Linked DNA regions of Homo sapiens: all the other regions are linked to region 7. The links are contacts of gene promoters, found by promoter capture Hi-C in blood cells and fetal thymus (Javierre and others, 2016). All regions are on one chromosome and are shown on one strand. Each heading gives the region's core, a stretch centred on a gene start or on the middle of the fragment in contact. The rest is flanking DNA. Distances are from core to core; before and after follow the strand shown.

What was found. Contacts are between HindIII fragments. The CHiCAGO score rates a contact against its expected background, and 5 or more counts as called.
Region 1: a fragment that was not itself captured here is called in contact with the fragment with the promoter of FNDC3B in region 7 in 4 of 17 cell types (monocytes, neutrophils, M2 macrophages and 1 more); the score reaches 10.8 in monocytes.
Region 2: a contact is called between a fragment that was not itself captured here and the fragment with the promoter of FNDC3B in region 7, in 2 of 17 cell types (M0 macrophages and M2 macrophages). The highest score is 6.5, in M0 macrophages.
Region 3: a fragment that was not itself captured here is called in contact with the fragment with the promoter of FNDC3B in region 7 in 7 of 17 cell types (M2 macrophages, endothelial precursors, M0 macrophages and 4 more); the score reaches 17.1 in M2 macrophages.
Region 4: a contact is called between a fragment that was not itself captured here and the fragment with the promoter of FNDC3B in region 7, in 13 of 17 cell types (M2 macrophages, M1 macrophages, monocytes and 10 more). The highest score is 14.2, in M2 macrophages.
Region 5: a contact is called between a fragment that was not itself captured here and the fragment with the promoter of FNDC3B in region 7, in 5 of 17 cell types (monocytes, neutrophils, M0 macrophages and 2 more). The highest score is 7.7, in monocytes.
Region 6: a fragment that was not itself captured here is called in contact with the fragment with the promoter of FNDC3B in region 7 in 1 of 17 cell types (monocytes); the score reaches 5.4 in monocytes.

Annotation. Positions count from the first base shown.
Region 1 is chr3:172,231,926-172,234,625 of GRCh38, reverse strand. The region is part of intron 4 of FNDC3B (fibronectin type III domain containing 3B); the gene reads right to left. Among named protein-coding and RNA genes, the nearest start is that of FNDC3B, 190 kb to the right of the region's middle. The HindIII fragment of the contact is 6,909 bases long and covers 1-2,700 here.
Region 2 is chr3:171,847,740-171,850,439 of GRCh38, reverse strand. The region is part of intron 1 of TMEM212 (transmembrane protein 212); the gene reads right to left. Among named protein-coding and RNA genes, the nearest start is that of TMEM212, 5.7 kb to the right of the region's middle. The HindIII fragment of the contact is 9,391 bases long and covers 1-2,700 here.
Region 3 is chr3:171,866,401-171,869,100 of GRCh38, reverse strand. No RefSeq gene overlaps it. Among named protein-coding and RNA genes, the nearest start is that of TMEM212, 24 kb to the right of the region's middle. The HindIII fragment of the contact is 1,035 bases long and covers 904-1,938 here.
Region 4 is chr3:172,255,285-172,257,984 of GRCh38, reverse strand. The region is part of intron 6 of FNDC3B (fibronectin type III domain containing 3B); the gene reads right to left. Among named protein-coding and RNA genes, the nearest start is that of GHSR, 190 kb to the left of the region's middle. RefSeq lists a silencer at 1,682-1,877. The HindIII fragment of the contact is 209 bases long and covers 1,190-1,398 here.
Region 5 is chr3:171,816,220-171,818,919 of GRCh38, reverse strand. No RefSeq gene overlaps it. Among named protein-coding and RNA genes, the nearest start is that of PLD1, 7.1 kb to the right of the region's middle. The HindIII fragment of the contact is 622 bases long and covers 1,138-1,759 here.
Region 6 is chr3:172,211,714-172,214,413 of GRCh38, reverse strand. The region is part of intron 3 of FNDC3B (fibronectin type III domain containing 3B); the gene reads right to left. Among named protein-coding and RNA genes, the nearest start is that of FNDC3B, 170 kb to the right of the region's middle. RefSeq lists enhancers at 1,063-1,122, 1,133-1,192. The HindIII fragment of the contact is 8,301 bases long and covers 1-2,700 here.
Region 7 is chr3:172,038,161-172,040,860 of GRCh38, reverse strand. It overlaps FNDC3B (fibronectin type III domain containing 3B), which reads right to left and starts at 1,283. Exons shown (of 26, transcript NM_022763.4): 1 at 1,090-1,283. RefSeq lists silencers at 1-300, 361-610, 791-890, 1,031-1,210 and enhancers at 129-795, 796-1,463. The HindIII fragment of the contact is 7,479 bases long and covers 1-2,700 here.

The DNA.
Region 1 (2,700 bases), core at 193-2,692, 190 kb before region 7:
TTCTAGTCAATAAAATGCTAAATGTCAATAAGTGTGCCACACTGCTTTGGTAATGACTGCTTTTGGAAACTTACGTATAGTCTCATTTGATACCCTGTTAAGGAATAATATGAACAGAGGAGAATAATCTAATTTTAGATTAGAAAAGAACCCCAGAGATCCTGAAACACTTTCCTCTCTCCGCTTCCCTCCATGAGATAAAAATCACTCCAGCCAGATAGCCAAATTTTGATAAATGCCTATTATGTGCTGGGTACCTTTCAAGGAACTAGAGATCAAGTGATGAACAGGACTGAACAGGACACACAAGGTCCCTGCCTTTGTGGACTTAAATGCTAAAAGGAAGACAGACAATGATCAAGTAAACAAGTGACACACCCAAATAAATCACTTAATATTCCTAAAATCACACAGAGAGTTGGATGTAGAGCCTCGCTTGGGCCCTCGTTTCCTCCCACTAATCCCATGTTCTATTATGTCACGATGCCGGGATCACAGAAACAAAGGAAAGAAATCAAAGAGAAAATGCAGAACAGGGAGAAGGCTCAGAAAGACGAAACTGCACAATACTTTGAGGGGAGGGGATGTCCTTGGTACATTTCTTTAATTTAGCATTGCCAACCCTGTCTGTAATTGCTCCTTGGACAAAATAAGCCACAAGATAAAAAATAAAATTGCTTCAAATCCATTGATAACTGAAACGAAATATCTAAGTACTATGCTGTTTTCCATGGAACACAATACCAACCCCCATGCACACAATGTACACTATGGAACAATTCCCTAACTTCCTATAGAGAAATCAGTTCCTCTGAAGGACCAAGAGTGTTGAAAGAGAATCCAATTCTCCTTATTGGCCACCAAATGGGTCTGAATCTCAGTTTCTCAGGGCATAGGGCAGTCCCCCATGTGCCTTTCTGTTATCATTTTCACAACGTTGAAGGTGAAACAAAGCAGTGGTTTAATCCCCAGCTGTAATTACCAAAGGGAAGCAGTTGAGGCTAATGTCTATAGCTCAGCTGGCTTGGCTAAGCGAAATGGGGGGAAAGTATTGCACAGCTTCCACCTAACAGGCCCCACTGTTTCTCCACAGAGGTGTCTGCTTTCTGGCCAGCTCTCCACTCATCATTGGCAAATGACCAACCAAACCAAAATTCAAATATATTTTTCAATACATTTCTTGTCTTTCCCTGGCTAAGGGAAATGAAATATATATAATTTCAACAGGTACTGACCCATTAATTAATCCCCAAAATAATCCAATGCGGTATTTTTGTTGTTTCTGCTCTCACAACAAAAATATTTATTTTGACTACTAACTTTTGGGATTACAACAGTTAATCTGGAAAAAGAAGAGTGGTTTCCCAAATGATAGAACATTAACTTGGAGGTTTCACTTTTTCTCTTCATATGCTTTTTAAATCCTTGGGTCAATATGAAGTTTTCCCTATAACATTTGAGCAAATGTATCATAAATTACTACGGAAGCATGGAAAATAAAACTCAAAGCATCTGCTTAAGAAATTTTTACATATAAATTATTCAGAAAGTTAATGGTGAGGTTAAAAAACAGAGAGCCATGGCCAGTATACAATGGAAGGAAAATTTTCCTTCACACCATGTGATTTCAATATGTATTTAGGAGGGCAAGCTCTGCCAAACTTCCATTGGAACTGTTGTAACAGTCTTTTTCATTGTAGTAGCTACTACTTACTGAGTGCCACACCTCACATAACATTTCTCCTAATTCTTACCTCTACCACGTCAAGTAGGTGTTCACATATGTGGTGAAATAATTTATCAAAGTTACACAGAAAGTAGCCAAGATGGAATCTGAAGAAAGGCCTCTCCAGGTAACGTCCATGTTCTCCTTCAGTTTCAACTCTAATCACACTCACAAGTGCTTTTACATAATGGAGATGATGACTGTGATAAGATTAAATTCCCACTTACCTAAATCCACTTTCTCATAGTTTAAAAAAAGGTCTATATTTTCTCTCAAGTTGAAAAGAATCCCTCTACCTCTCATCCCACTAAAAAATAAGGCACAAAACACACCACATCCCCCAACCTACTATATCAGAGAAACCACCAAGCTGAAATGACAGGATTCCACTGTTTTTGCACCCTAAGTCCACAGTTATCTGTAAGGTCCACCAATTCAGCCCTTCTCAACCTAAGAAAACAAAGCTCGTGCTGTTGATTGCACCTCCACAGCTGTCTGTTAAACTTCAGGAGTTTATTATCTGCTTATTACTGACATTTGTATTTTGTCAGATTTGACCAATTTTATTAATTTATCTTTAAAGGACTTTCGGCTATTTAATTATACAACAAATCTGCTATAATCAAGAACTTCTCTATTCAATCAGATTAGAGTTATTACCATAAAATCTTGATTTACTTGCCTCCCTCTTCAATTTTCTTACAATTAAAGACCATACTGGCAGGGTGTGGTGGCTCACACCTGTAATCCCAGCACTTTGGGAGGCTGAGGCAGGTGAATCACTTGAAGTCAGGAGTTTGAGACCAGCCTGACCAACATTATGAAACCCCATCTCCGCTAAAAATATAAAAATTAGCCAGGCATGGTGATGCGCGCCTGTAATCCCACCTCCTTGGGAGGCTGAGGCACGAGAATTGCTTGAACCCAGGAGGCAGAGGTTGCAGTGAGCCAAGATCATGCCACTGCACACCAGC
Region 2 (2,700 bases), core at 114-2,613, 190 kb after region 7:
GCCTTAACTACTTTGGCATGAGCTGTTTCTTTCCTTTCAAAAAGTTGAAAAATGCTGCAGAATTTCAGTTGCCTGTTATTTTTGTAGCTGCCAGCTTGAATTTTGCTTTGTTTACATAAAACTTTGAAAAAGATCTTTCATGCAGTAGGCTGAGTATGAATGCCTTCAGTAACTTGTTAAATCCACCCTGCAAATTGAAAGGCAGCTCAAGAGGTTAGCGCACCCATCTTTATTGGTGCTCCCCGCCAGACATGGGAGATAGAATAGGGCTATTTTCCCCAAGATGCGCAGACTTCCCCTTTTCTTTCTTCCATTTCTTCTTGAAAATTATATTTTTAGATAGGGAGGAGAAAAGAATGAAAAAGGAAGAGATTTGAGGGTAGGCAGGACAAGTCAAGGGGAAGAGAAAATGTGAGAGAGGGAGTGTCTGAGGGGGGAATAGTTGGCTGAAGAGGAGGCCAGGTTATGAGGAAGGGGAGAGTGGAGGCTGTGTCTGGCAGTGAGTGGGGAAAGAAGAGAGGGCCCCCATCCTGCACTCGCCTCCCTCAGCTCTCCTTGACATGCTGCTGCCTTGCTTTCTGGGCGCTTCCAGGGATATCAGCTGGGTTTTGCAACAATTACTGCTAACACTTTGATTGCATGATCATTGTGAACCCTCCCACTAAATCTTTAAATTGCCTAAGTAGAGGACGTAGTTCCCAGAAGTAGATGAATTGAAGGAAGCAGGGAGCCCTCACAATAGAAATAGAAACTTTAAGAGGTATCATATTAATATGGTTAATTTATTCACTTACAAGCATCTGTTATGAGTCTACTGCAAACAAGCAATGTGCTAGGTACTGTGCTGATAAAGTAATAATAAATGTTAACATGTATTGAGTGAGTGTTTAATATATGTTGAACACTTCACATGTGTTAACTCATTTAATCCTCACAATGACCTTATCATGTAGATATCCTCCCACTTTTAAAATGAGGCACAGAAAGGCTAAATAAGATGAACAAGATCCCCAAATAGTAATTGTACAAATAGTGGTTCTGACTGCCGCTGGAATTTACAGTTCAGGTGTAAAAATAATGCACACACGAGAATGGCTACAACACTAGGCAAGAAGGATGAATGTTTTCTGCATGAGAAGAGCTCAGAGATAAGGTATCACTTACAGGGGAAACATCGATGATAAAGGCACCATGGAGAAATAGGATCTGAAGTGGGTTTAAGGATGGATGTGATTTCAATGGGAGGTGACAGAGGGAGGGCAGCTCAGTCTGTGGGAGCAGCATGTGCAAAGGTGGGGAAGTGGCTGCCATGCTTAGGGAGCAGGGAGTGAGGAGTCCACACTGAAAGGAGGGCCAGTTCTTGGCAGAGAAGAGTAGAAAATCAGGATTGAAAGCCAGGTAATACCAGGGTGAGAAGGACCTCACAATGCAGTCTAGCACGTCTGAACTTTGTTTAGGGACAATGAAGCAACGTGAAAGATTTTTGAAGGACCTGTAGCCTGACTACTGAAGGGGTTTAGAAAGATGAGCCAGTTGTGTGCACACTAGATTGGAATACGGGGAGGCCTAGACATCTCTGTAGAACCCTGGTCTTCAGATTTATTTTTTCAACTCTAGCCACAATAACGAATACATTTTATGTCATAGTTATAAATATTTTTATATCTGACCAAAATAATATGTAACCATCATTATGCATCATATGCATTATGATGCATATAAAAGATATACAAATTTTGGTCAGATATAAAAAATGTGGTGCATTCTAATATTATCTATTCCATTCCACTCCACTCCACTCCACTCCACTCTACTCTGTTCTCCTCTGTTCTATTCTATTCTATTCTATTCTATTCTATCCTATTCTATTCTATTCTATGCATTTATTGTAAATACTGCTAGCTACTCAATAGATTGATTTTATAATTCACTAATGGATAGATTCCCACAGTTTGGCTATCAAAGTTACCTAGGCATAAAATCTGAGAAGTGATGGCAAGTGGTAAGGGGGTATAGAGTGAGATGGAAAAGGAAGGAATGCATAGGGGTATGCCTTGTAGGAAAAATTAAAGTTACATGGCAACTGATTAGAGTAGGGTTGGTGTTAGGCTGTAGGGCATTGCTGCCTGCAGTGTGGTCCTAGGACCAGCAGCATGGGCATCCTCTGGGAACTCATTAGACATGCAGACTCTCAGGCCCCACCCCAGACCTGCTGAATTAGAACCTGCATCTCATCAAGATCTGCTAATGATTTGTATGCACGTTACAGTTTGAGAAGGGATAGTTTAGAGGAACAGGTTGAGTCAAAATCACTCCAGTATTTGGAATTGAGTTACCAAGACAATGACAGGGAAGTTGGAGAAGAAAAAAAATGGTTTTGGTGACAAGATGATTAATTTGGTTTTAGACAAGTTGGCCTTAAAGCAGCTTAGGATATCTAAGTGGAAAAATGGACCATTGACATAGATTATTTGCTTGATCAAACTTTAGTCAGGTTCCTGAACCTTCTCCTAGGCCCATCTGTGTACTTTCTTGTAAAATCCAGTTTGAGCACAAGAACCCTGCTGCTGATGAGTCAGTTTAGCAAGAACCCCCCCTAGTCTCAATATCTGATCACCCTCTATAACTAGTCAGATTTCTCCTCCTCCCCCATCCCCACCGTGATGTCTGATCACCCTGGCCTGTCTTCAGCAAGAAAAC
Region 3 (2,700 bases), core at 172-2,671, 170 kb after region 7:
TTGCCCAGTCTGGAGTGCAATGGCATGGTCTCAACTCACTGCAACCTCCACCTCCTGGGTTTCTGTACCTCAGATTCTCCTGCCTCAGCCTCCCGAGTAGCTGGGATTACAGGTGCTCACCACCATGCCCAGCTAATTTTTGTATTTTTAGTAGAGATGGGGTTTCTCCATGTTGGCCAGGCTGCTCTTGAACTCCTGACCTCAGTCAGGCCTCCCAAAGTGCTGGGATTACAGTCGTCAGTCACCGTGCCCGGCCTGATTCAGTTTTTCATTCATTGTCACTGAAGTCTAGCAATATCAGCAAGGTGCTATTCGCAAAGAAATGCCCACAAATACTAACTTGATACTTTTTCTCATATCCCTATTTGTTTATTTATAAAACAAATCAGATGTAATAATTACAAACCTTAAATCATATAATATATTTTAGTTGATTTTTGATTGAGTGTAACACATAGTTAAATGTAATTCTAAAGTTTAGTATACTTTGGCCTCCTAAAGTATACAAAATCCTAAACATAACACAATGTTAACTATAACATTTGTCCAAAAAATCATGTTTTTATGACATATTCAGTTTAATCTTAATTAAATAGAATGGTACTTGTTAAATGGAAAAAGTACAAATTTACCTAACTATATTATGAATATTATAAATATTATATTAAATTTTGTGTTACAATCTTTTAAAACAACTTTGTACCATAATAAAATGATGCAATTTTTTAGCTGAGAGTTTTTATGAGATTATTATTATGAAAGGGGCTTTAAACCACAGAATGATAGGAAATACTGGTCTAGTCCACTTTGTTTTATAGATGAGTTAACCAAGACCCTGAAAAGGAAGTGGATGGCTCAGTCCGTTAAAATTAAGCCTAGGCTTCTTGACCAACTAGCAAAGCTTCATATTACGTAACTCTAGGGGGCGCTGTTCAAATTGTTGTGGTGCCATTTTCATAGACTAATGAGATCGGTGGTCTCCGGAGTTGTGCAGTGCAATGGCCTTGGCTTTTAGTTACTCAATGCTTAATCTGTGAAAATCCCTGTTGTTAATCTTGCTTAGGTATTTTCCTGAAGTTTTCAATATATTATTTGCAAGACCTCTAAGTTCTTAATTTCTTTCTTCCAAACTGAGGCCCACATGAGAAAAGGCAATAAAGAAGCATTGGCAGCTGGGCGCGGTGGCTCACACCTGTAATTCCAGCACTTTGGGAGGCCGAGGCAGGTGGATCACGAGGTCAGGAGTTTGAGACCAGCCTGTGCAATATGGTGAAACCCCATCTCTACTAAAAAAAAAAAACAACACACAAAAATTAGCCAAGTGTGGTGGTGCGTGCCTGTAGTCCCATCTACTCGGGAGGCTGAGGCAGGAAAATCGTTTGAATCCAGCAGGCAGAGGTTGCAGCGAACCGAGATCACACCACTGCACTCCAGCCTGGGCAGCAGAGACTCCGTCTCAAAAAAAAAAAAAAAAAAAAAAAAAAAAAAAAAAAAGCATTAGTTCACTTGACAGTTAATCAGATTGTATTTTTCTTTTTAAATCAGGCCTTATGCTGGGGGCTACACATCAGAGTTGAACTGTCATGCTGTCTGCCCTCAAAAAGTTTGAAATTGGTCAAGAAGCAATATATCAAGAACATGATAAGGGTGTACTATTAGGGATCTGCCATAGACTGCAATGCTGGCACAAAGGAAGAAGTGATCTGTTCTGTCCGGGGATGGTTGAAAGAAGAAAAGCCTCACAGAGAAGGTAACACTGTTTGCCATGGGAGATTTAATAAAAGAAAAGCAGAAATTAGTTGTAAATAAAATTGGCCTAGATTAAAACTGTCTTATAGTCCACACCATTCAGTGCTAGATTTATTATAAATTCAAAGCAAGGTATCATTTGTATCCGATATGTGACCAGGATTAACTGGAGAGTATTCAGGAAAAGCTTCCGTACCTCTTTGTCTAGAGTGGTAGGCAGGAGGCCTCTAATTTCCTCTACTAAGTTCTTACAATGCCTTTTGATTAATGATGAGATGTGAAACTGAGTATTTACCCTCAGTGACAAGAGTGTGACCCGCATTAAATCCAATCACTTTGTCTGGGTCTCTTATAGGCCTGAAACTTTTAGCATCTTTCTGGGTTCCTCTCCTGTCCCATGTGCTGTTACCAAGTCCTGTGGAGTCTACCTTCTAAATGTCTCTCAAAGGTATCACCTCGGCTGGGCGCGGTGGCTCACTCCTGTAATCCCAGCACTTTGGGAGGCTGAGGCGGGCAGATCACGAGGTCAGGAGATCGAGACCATCCTGGCTAACACAGTGAAACCCTCTCTCTACTAAAAAATACAAAAAATTAGCCAGGCGTGGTGGCGGGCGCCTGTAGTCCCGGCTACTCTAGAGGCTGAGGCAGCAGAATGGCGTGAACCCGGGGGGCGCAGCTTGCAGTAAGCCAAGATTGCGCCACTGCACTCCAGCCTGGACGACAGAGCCAGACTCTGTCTCAAAAAAAAAAAAAAAAAAAAAAAAAGGTATCACCTCCTCTCCATACCCACTGTTGCTGACTAATTCAGATCCTGTTATTCTTCATCTGTTCTCTTGGTCCTCCTGGCCCAAGCCTCATTTCCCTTTAATCCCTGTAAGTCAATGGCAGGCAGGATGTGTCTTGCTCATATTTCTGTCTCTAACCTTTAGCTAGATATCAGGCACATAATAT
Region 4 (2,700 bases), core at 45-2,544, 220 kb before region 7:
AAGTGTTCCAACTGAATGCCTCCCACCCGCCGCTTTCCCACCCCTGCCATTTAAAATCTTGGTTAAAAATTGCTTGGCACTCAAAGAGCCAGCAGTTCTCAAATGCTACTGTGGCTTATTATTACCTGGAGTGCCTGATGAAACATAGATTGGTGGGCCCCACCTACACAGCCTGTATTCAGTAGGTCTGGGGCAGGTCATAAGGGTACATGTCTCACAAGCTTCTAGATGGTACTGATACTGCTGGTCTGAGCCCATGAGTAGCCAGGACCCAGGTGAGGGCTGGATCCCTGGGAAAGCCTTGTGGAGGGTGACAAGGACCCAGGTCCTCCACTCAAACCACTGGAGTTCTAGTGCTGTCTGCTTTCAGAGTGCGTGTGTGTGTGTGTGTGTGTGTGTGTGTGTGTGTGTGTGTATGAATGCGTGTGATGTGGTAGGGGTGAAGGGATACTGTATTTAAAACTGGTAATCCACACAAGATTGCCTGAAAAGAGAGGCAATGTGCTCATTGATAAGATTTTGAAAATCACTGACTGTAACTCACCTGTTCATTTTACTGAAAGGGAAACCACGGCTTAGTGAAATGACATGTTCTATGTCACACAGTCCAGAACGCCGATTATTTAAAATCTTACAATTCCATTCTGTTTTTAAAATGTAAAAGTCATATATGAAAAAGACATCCTCACTCTTAGGGTAAGCCCCAGGAACAAAGTGAAAGTCAACAATGTCAACTGCACACAGCAAATTTTTATACATAAAAAAGTGTTTGGAGGCCAGGCGCAGTGGCTCACACCTGTAATCCCAGCACTTTGGAAGGCTGAAGTGGGTGGATCACCTGAGGTCAGGAGTTCAAGACCAGCCTGGCCATCATGGCGAAACCCCATCTCCACTAAAAATACAAAAATTAGCCAGGCATGGTGGCAGGTGCCTGTAATCCCAGGAGAATTGCTTATAACCTGGGAGGTGGAGGTCTCAGTGAGCCGAAATTGCGCCACCGCACTCCAGCCTGGGCGACAGAGCCAGATTCTGTCTCAAAAAAAAAAAAAAGTTTGGAAATTGTGACTTTACACTCTTGATTTCCTCTCCCTTCACCATCTGCCCACATATACACACAAACACACACACATACATATTATTGAGACTACTTAGGTCTTTTAAAATTAAACAGTGGATCCTCATCAAAGCTTTTGTTTTTTACTCTAAATTCACCTAATTATTTCTATAACAATATTAGCAGATAACCTAACTGCTTTCTGAGGGGCTATAACTGGCTGAAAATTGAAGGATTTCAGTTAGAAAACTGGATCCTGACTCACTGTATCCCACTCAATAACTTCCTTAAAATATTGTGTGCTTTGGTTTTTTTATCAAGAATAAAATGGAAGAAATGAAGCTTCCTTCTCACTCAATGAAGAGCAACAGAAACTTCTTTAGCTTCTGCAGTGAAAGGCAATGTGACTATTTTAACTGGGTTTTGGCCACAGAACAGGCTCAAGGCCCAGCTCTTGCATAATACTCCGTACACAAGAACAAATTTTTCCATTCCTGTCCTTGAACATCTGTGGACTGGATGCCCAAGCACTGTTCTAAAATGAAATGCTGGGAGAGGAAGAGAAAAGGAAGGCAAAAACTCTTGAAATATTTTCCCTTAACTTATCTGCCATCATAATATGTTGGAGAGACAGGCAGGCTTCACAGAGGAGGTGATAACTGAGCTGGCTCTTGAAGGCCTGAGTTGGAGTTTGCTAGGCAGAGGAACTGGAAGGACAGGCCAAAAAAGGGGAATGAGGCATATTCACAAAATGGGGCAGAACACCGCATGTCTGGTGGGGAAATGTGAAGGGCCACAAGAGGTGAGTATGTGTCATATCATGCAGTTTAGACTTTATTCTCTAGACAGTGGGGAGCACCACAAAGGTTCTCAAGGAAGGAATTAAAATGTTGAGATCTATTTAACTGTAGTCACAAGAGAGGATGCACTGGAGAGGAAAATGAATAATCACACATCTTAAACCATAAGGTGGCCCTTCTGGGCAGTCTCTTAAGGTTCAGAGGGAGCAAAGAAAATCCTAAGAAACGTATGAGGAGACACCAGGGACCATGAGAAAGGAAGTCCCAAGAGGCTGTGCACCAGAGTTCTTTCTCACTCAGAGCTGGAAGTGCCCTAGGACGAGGTGACGAGGAGATGTGTGAGATCTGGTACCAATTCCACCAGAGAGGACCCCAAGGTATCTGTACGTTTCTACCCAGTGGCAACCTTTCTTAAAAGAGCCTGGAAGTGTCCAGGCACAGTGGCTCACGCCTGTAATCCCAACACTTTGGGAGGCTGAGGCCAGGAGTTGGAGACCAGGAGTCAAGGCCAGCCTGGCCAACATGGCAAAACCCCGCCTTTACTAAGAATACAAAAAAATTTGCCAGACGCAGTGGCTCACGCTTGTCATCCCAGCACTTTGGGAGGCCGAGGTGGGTGAATCACCTGAGGTCAGGAGTTCAAAACAAGCCTGGCCAACATGGTGAAACGCCATCTCTACTAAAAATGCAAAAAGTTAGCCAAGCATGGTGGTGTGCGCCTGTAATCCTAGCTACTCGGGAGGCTGAGGCAGAAGAATCGCTTGAACCTGGGAGGCAGAGGTTGCAGTGAGCTGAGGTCACGCCATTGCACTCCGGCCTGGGCAACAAGAGTGAAATTCCGTCTCA
Region 5 (2,700 bases), core at 199-2,698, 220 kb after region 7:
TGGAGTGCAGTGGTGTGATCTAGGCTCACTGCAGCCTCCGCCTCCTGGGTTCAAGTGATTCTGCCACCTCAGCCTCCCAAGTATCTGGGATTACAGGTGCACGTCACCATGCCTGGCTAACTTCTATATTTTTAGTAGAGATGGGGTTTCACCATGTTGGCCAGGCTGGTCTTGAACTCTTAGCCTCAAGTGATCCACCCTCCTCGGCCTCCCAAAGTGCTGGGATTACAGGCATGAGCCACCATGCCTGGACCCTGTTATACTCTTAAGTATATTCATCATAGATAGTACAAACATCTAACCCCTTTATTATGTCTTTAGTGTGGTTTCTTCAAGAATTTTACATATTAAGAGACATTCTATTTTGTTATAATTTATTTTCTCTTATTTCTCTTTTATTTATTGTCAGTGTATTTTATGTATTTTTGAAATTAGGAATTAATTTCATTTCCAGATGACAAAGAAGACAATGCAAAAATAAAAAGGTGTGTTGTTCTGATAGGGCTGAGAGCAACTGAGCAAAAAAGAGCGATGTATTGAAGAAGAAAAATATATTTCCAGTGCACATGATTTCCACTATAAAAACAATGTTTTATGGAAAAAAAACTGTCTCAGTGCACTGATGGAACAGCTGCTTTGACTGGAATAAAACTTGAATTCTAGGATAAGGGTACAGAGATAGCTCCAAAAATAAATTTATTCACTGCTTTTAATAAAAAACCAAAATGTTCTTGTAGCAAAGAAGTTGAAGCTAGAAGTGCACAAATTTGCTGTAAGATTTTGTTGATGTAGTTGATGGTTAATTTTATGTGTCAACTTGATTGGACTAGGGGATGCCCAGATAGCTGATAAAACATTATTTTTGGATATGTTAGTGAGGGTGTTTCTGGGAGAGATTAGCATATGAATCCATAGATTGAGTAAAGAAGATCACCCTTGCCAACTTGGTTGAGCATCGTACAATCAATTGAGCTCCCCAAAAGAACAAAAAGGCTGAGGAAACATGAATTTACTCTCTTTGAGCTGGGACATTCATCTTCTCCTGCCTTAGGACATCTGCACTCTTTGTTCTCAGGCCTTGGAACTTGGACTGTGACATACCCCATTAGCTCCCCCTGGTTCTTCAGCCTTCAAGCTTGGACTGGAATGGTATCACCAGCTTTCTTGGGCCTCTAGCTTACAGAGTGGGGACTGTGGGACTTCTCAGTCTCCACAATTGTGCAAGCGAATTCCTAATGTAAATTCCTATTTTATATATCTCTCTGTATATCCTATTGGTTCTGTTTATCTGGAGAACCCTGACTAACACATATAGATAATATTATCAAAGACAGGCATTTGTAGTAAACTGTTCACTGTTCTCTGCAGAGATGATGAGTGATTATGAAAACATGCTGTATCACGGATGAGAACACTGGTTATATCATGCCAGAGTATGTTTCATAGTTGTCAAATTTATTTTCTTATTCTTATTTTCTAAAAACACTAGTGCTTTACATTCTGTCTTTTCTATGATAACAAGTATCTGCCAATTCTATGGTAGTAAAGCAGAATTTTAAAAAGAAATTAGCCTTGTCTCTTCAAAATAAAAGTGTCACTTTAATAACAAATTAGAGAGTTTCCACTTTTGAAGGCAACTGAGGCTATGGTGACGGCATTCTGAAAGCAGGCCTTTTGCAGTGCTTCCTTCTTAACTGATTGACTTCTGAAAGTACGTATCATCTATAAAACTTCTCATATCTGCTCACTTTAAAAAGCTTGGAAATAGACATTTCTAATTCAGTTAAAAAGTCTTCCCAACAATGACTCTCAAGTGGGTTTTGAATCTATTTGTTACATATAATTGTTAAAAATAGAAAAATGCAATGCTTCTGATTAGTTGACAAAAAATATTGATCTCTAAGACACTGGATGAATTGGTTGTGGTAGAAAAGTCTTCTTAAAGAGTTCTTGCTTATCTGCAGAGTTTACTCAATTCTGTTTTAATTCAGGTCCATGATCACCTATTCATAATTCTAAAATCCAAAATTTCTGAAAACCAAAAGTTTTATTTGTGACTCACTTGGCAGCAAAACCTGATCTGAATTGATCTGAAGCTGTTTACAGTCTATTTTTCCATGCGATATGCCTATTCACATCTTTTGCTGCAGAAATATGAGGGTGTTTAACTGTGGGGTGCAGCCCTAGACCTCGTCAGGGGTATTACATAATATATGCTATATGAATTGTATATAGTTTCTGAAATCCATAGAATTCTGAATATGATAAATTCATCTGATCCTAGGAGTTTTGGAGCTTGTGGAGTTATGCAAGTACCAGCACTGAATAGGAGATGAATAAAGAATTGCAGTATTCTTGACTGGCAAGGGTCTTTTCCAATGTATTTTAATGTTAAGGGTCTATAATTCTGAAATTTCTTGCCTGATTTTTTGTTGTTATAAGGATAGAAGAATCCCATTTTTGGGCAGAGGTTCTGTAATTCAGGGTCAGCATGTCAACTAACAGATTGTTCCACATACACATATTTTTTCCTACAGGGGAGTTCTGATTCCCAGGAACACCCTGAGGGCCACTGAAGCTGAGACGTTTCTGAGAAATTCTTTTGCTTTATGTGGGGTGTGGGGTAAGGGTGTCTTGACTGGCCTTACAAACTAGCCTAAGGCATGAGTTTAAAAGTGCACCTTTAAGGCAACAGATTGT
Region 6 (2,700 bases), core at 32-2,531, 170 kb before region 7:
TGTCTTGATTGTTAATAAAAATCCTCTAAGTTGTCCGGCAGCTGGGACCTAATAATGGGCTGTGAGATGATTAGTTTGATGTATATAGTTCCAGTCTCTGCCTTACCTAAACCACACAGAAGGGGTCCGGAAAGTAAATGAGAGTTCTTACAGACCAGCCTGTTGATTTTACTCTTTTGTTTGTAAGTGAAAAACAAAGGGCAGGCTAAGGGCTGAGGGTAAACAACAACTACAAATAGGTTAGGCTCTCTTACCTCTGAAGTGTTTGGCGTCTGATCAAGGGCAGTCAGTAAACACCCCCAAGCAATTGTGGGAAAGTTGGTCACCTAGACTGCTATTTTCTCAGCCATAAAAATGAACTGACAAAGTTATTGTTTGAGAGGCACCAGACTGCTTTATGGCGCGGCACCATAGATGCTTCTAATTTTGGCACATTGCCTCCACAGAAACAAGCAATTTTTACTAAACAAGCTACAATTTCACTTTCAAAAACCAACCCTTCATCTACTACTAAGGGGGCCTGAGACAAATCAAAATCAAGGGTCTACATTTGGGGTAACAGGCTACCAGAAAGGTCTCCTAACTGATTCACTGCTGTTTATCCTGAGCTGAAAAAGCAACAAGAACAGATACATTTTAAAGTTAGCTCCTCAAAACAACTACTAAGCCTTTGGGGTTTGCTAATCTGGAAAGGCTAAAAAACCGAGGCCGTATTAGGATAGGTAAGAATGGGGAGAAGGCAAAATTACCAGGTAATCACTAAAAACAAGACTACATCAAAATGGGGAGTTTTGCATATAGTACTATCACTGGTTAAGCAAGAGTATGAGCACAAACAAATGATATGCATGATATATAAATATGAGCAACTCATAAATCCCTTCAAGGCAAAACTTTAGGATTATACTCCTCCCTTTTCCAGACATCCCTACTCAGACAAAACTGTGAATACTGAGAAGATAGGAGTTTCTTCATCACCTTATCTCTATCACTGCCTTTGAGAAACCACTGTGGTTTATGACTTGTCTTCCCCATGACTTAAACTGTAAAAGAATCCCCATGTTCCCATGTGCGTATGCTCACATGGCCTGAGGTCCAATGAGACGCACCTTTGGCCTCATACTTGTCTAGGGATCACATTCACTTTTAGATGAGTAAAACACTGTCAAAGTATTTGAGTAAAAATTTTCTGGCCACAGATCTGAGGTCAGGTCTGTTAGGCTGTCTGCACAGAAATGTTACTAAAATCAAGTGGAGAACAGATAAGGAGAAAGAAGGATCTGGGGCAGAAAGCTGATCCTCTCTTTGAAAAAGAAGGGAGGAACCAGACAGATACCTAACATGGAAGAAAAAGAAAAAGGAAGGAAATAATTTCATGGATTGGTGTGTAAACTACAAACAAGGCAGAAAAGCCACAACCAGAAAATACATGTACCCAATTAATCTCAACTGAATTGTTTTCCAACTGTCCTCGTGATACATTAAGAGATCTGTGACCATAGCATATGCATGATATTCAAAACGGTAACTGATACAAATCACAGGAATCCAGAGGCTGGTCACTGGTCCATTTCAGCTTTCCAATAGTATTTTTTAAAGTTCTTCTCTTCAGTCCATCCCCATCAAAACCAAATGGCTCAGTGGAGATATGGGATTCAGTCTGTATGGCCCTGGGCAAGTTACTTAATTGTTCATGATACAAAGTAAAAGAGAAGAAACCTGATAATTTCTGTGCTTCCTTCTAGAGTAATATGCTGGGTGGTAGTGGTGGTACTGGTGTCACGTAGGTCTGTGCTTGCAGATTCTAGAAAACAGGTGTTAGCTGACAATTTCTAAATTCTTCCTGCTATCATCCTCAAATGTGCTACGTCAAAATTTCTAGGCCTTTTTGAAAATGTAGATTTCCAGGCCTTCAGAGTCTGCTTCTCCCCACAAGCAGCCCAACTTCCTCAGGCCATCCCTGATCACTGGTTTTGATGCAGATGTGCTACGGACCAGTTCAGAAGAATGACTTGGAAAGAACGCGGTAAAAAATAAATAGAAAGTAGAAAAAAACAGGCTCATTCAAGATCCTTGAAGCACATCTCATTTGTAGTTACCTTGAGTCCAATTAGCTAAGTTTTAATTTCATCACAATGTTTAAAAGTAAAGAGGGAAAAAGAGTCATTAACAGAGTTCCATAAACTTTATCCTATTAATGGATATTTAATTGAATATGCTTCAGCTGGCAAAGATGACTATAATTTGGCTAAAAATAGTCCCCCAGCTTTAGTCATAATAAAGCAACCACTGTTTTACTTCCATGGCAACAACAAAATGATCACAGGATTTTATATAATATAGGATAATAAGCACTCTATGAAGAATCAGTCTATGCAATTATTGCTGTTTATTTATATGATTAATGGTCCCTGGTGATCGTTTAATATGAAATAGTATACATCTAAGAATAAGGAAGTAGGTAGAACAGCTGATAAAACATTTATAAACATCTTTAATTGACAGCTAAGATCAAAGAATTGGAATTCTCTTGGGGATCTTAACAGTCATCCAGACCAATTCCCCATTTAATGCTTGAAGTTTTGAACAAAATTTCTAACAAGTAGCAGAATACTTCAATGTAGAGTTTACTATCTCAAAATGCAGAGAAATTCCATTTTTTAATAATCCTAACTGGTAAAGGGTTTCCCCTTTTTCAAA
Region 7 (2,700 bases), core at 34-2,533:
GCCCGGGTCCTCCGGTTCCCACGGGACGCCGGGACCCGGACCTCTGGGAAAGTTCGCGGGCACAGCCCGAGGCCCCACTTTCTGCCGAGAGTGACAGGCCCTTCCCACGCCTGCCGGCCCCAGCCCAGCCGCGGGCACCAGACGGTCCGCGCGGCCCCTCCTGGCCGCCTCGGGGCGCAGATTCCGCCCGCCCGCCCTATCCCCGGCCGAGGCGCCCCTCGGGGTGACCGACTGACCGGAGCTCCGCTGGCCCACACACCGGGTCGCCCGCTCCTTCCCGCCGCGCCCCGCTCCCCCGCCCGAGCTTCCAGCCGCCGGCTCGCCAAGTCCGGCCGCGGCCGCCGGTTACCGCCCCCAGCCCGGGGGGAGCCCGGGGGGCAGGACGGGGAGGAGGACGTGGCGTGCTCGGAGGTGGCCAGCAGCGGGGCGGGGAGTGTCCCGGAGAGGCCCAGCCGGGGACGGGGGGGCCAGGCCGGCGCGGGCTCGGGACCCTCCCCGCGAGCATCCCCGGGTTCGAGGCCCCCGACCGCCCCCGCCGGCGCGGAGAGGCGGCCCCAACTTCCAGCCCCACTTCGCACTCCCGCCCTCTTCCCTCCACCATATGGAAATCTACAGCCTCAGAAAGTGACACGTCGAAGATTCCTCGGCCTCGCCGCCCGCCCTCCCCCTCCTGGGCAGCGTTCCTGCCGCGGAGATTCCGGGAGGGGGAGCGGATTCCTCGGACAAAATCTGCTGGGAAGGCTGGGGGTGGGGGGAGGCCGCGAGCCACTGCCCAATTTTTTTTAAGAGGAATCTACCCGTTTCTTTCACTCCTCCAAACCCTGAGGCAGGGGGCACAGGCGGGGGACCCCAGCCCAGCAAGGCGGGGGCCGCCCCCTCCCGGGTCCCGTGTTCCCGGGGTGCCCAGGCGAGCACGGGGCGCCCCAGCACTCCGGCGCCAAGTTTTTGCCGGGAAGCCCAGGGCGCTCCCGGGACAGGGACGCACTTTGGCGGACTCGGCGTCAGGCCGGGGCTTTCCAGTGCACCGGGACCCGGCGATCGCGCTCGGGGTCCCGGTCTCCTCTAGTCCCCGGCTCTTGCACGCCTTACCTTCCCTAGGGCTGAAACGCGGGGCTCTGGGCGCGCCACACACCGGGTCGCCCACGCCTTCCCAGCCGGCAGCCTGGAGGATCCCTGCCGCCCCCTTCGCTGCTCCCGCCGCCGCCGCTCTCCTCCTCCAGCCGCCGCCGCCGCCGCTCAAATAACTACCAGGAGGGTTTGATGGGGGATTCCGCCATGTCAATGATGTCGGGACCACATGGGGATTTGGGGCCCGCCCATTACCGTAAACCGCCGAATATACCGGCCGCCACAATCGCAGACTCGCAGAAGCTGTTGTCCCCCGGCCCTGCCTAGCTAAGCAGAAACTCCTTTTGGTTCAGCCAGACTAAAGAAACCTGAGGCTTAGGGAACTAACAACTCCTGAATGGCGAGGGCTGCGCGTTCTGCAGATCGCCAAAGTAATATAAAGGCAATGTTTACTCAGTGATAATTAAGCCTAAAACTGACTTTTTTTCATTTACACATATATTTCGCTTTTTGTTGTTGTTAACCCCCACAGCAACCTTGTGAGCTATATTACTCCCACATTTCCCACAGCATTTTATTCATACAACTAACATAGTATGAGCAATTTTTATTATACTTAAGTTAAAATCTCTCTTTCCTCTTTCTTTTTGTTTTTTGTTTTTTGTTGTTGTTGTTGTTTGTTTTGGGGACTGCAGGCACGGGGCAGGCATGAGCCACCGCACCCTTTTTTTTTTTTTTTTTTTTTCCTTTTTTGGAAGAGAGGGGGTCTCAATAGGTTGCCCAGGCTGGTCTGGAACTCTGTCGCTCAAGTGATTCTCCCGCCTTGGCCTCCCAAAGTGTTGAGATTACAGGCGTGAGCCAACTCACCCAGCCTTATTTCACAATGCGTTTCTCAGGGACAAAGACTGTTTCTTACTTTTATCTTTATATCCGTAAAATATAGCACAGTGCAAGGACCACAATAGGACTCATTAAATAACTGTTGAGTTCATATTAAGTCAAATGTAATGTATTTCTGTTGTACAGGCTCTAAGAGGTTAACAGACTGCATCCCATGCCACCCCTCAGATTATTCAGGAGACAAGAGAGCAAAAGTTAGCCTAGAGAAGCCCCTTCCATCCATAGCTGTCCAGGTATTCTGAATAGCTACATTCAGCCTCAACTATTAAGCTACAAAGGAGCATTCAGGGAGTCACTAGAGACAATGTATTACTTTTGTTAACCTAAAAAATAATAATAGCAGTACATAATACTCTGTTAAAGTCTAAAGAACACTAAGAAATAGCTCCTTCCTTCCCTTGTTCATTTGCCATTCTTTTGGGGAGATTTTAGCCTTTTTTTTTTTTTTTTGGAGGCAATGGTGAGTCCAGAGAAATGGGGACCTCTCTCCTAAATGGCTTATTTACTGTGGAGCTCCTCAAAGGGGAACTTGAAGCCATCTTTCTATAACATAACTCCAATTCTAGGTCATAGTCCTGCATGAGAAGCCGGGGCGGGGGGTAGGCAGTAGTTCCTTAGTGCCAATAGGGTACAATCCAATAGATCCCATTTGAGTCCAAATGCCTTCTCTGGCTCCAGACTCTTTGGCTTCCTCAGGTGCCATGCCTTCAGCCCAGCTGATCACTCATGGCT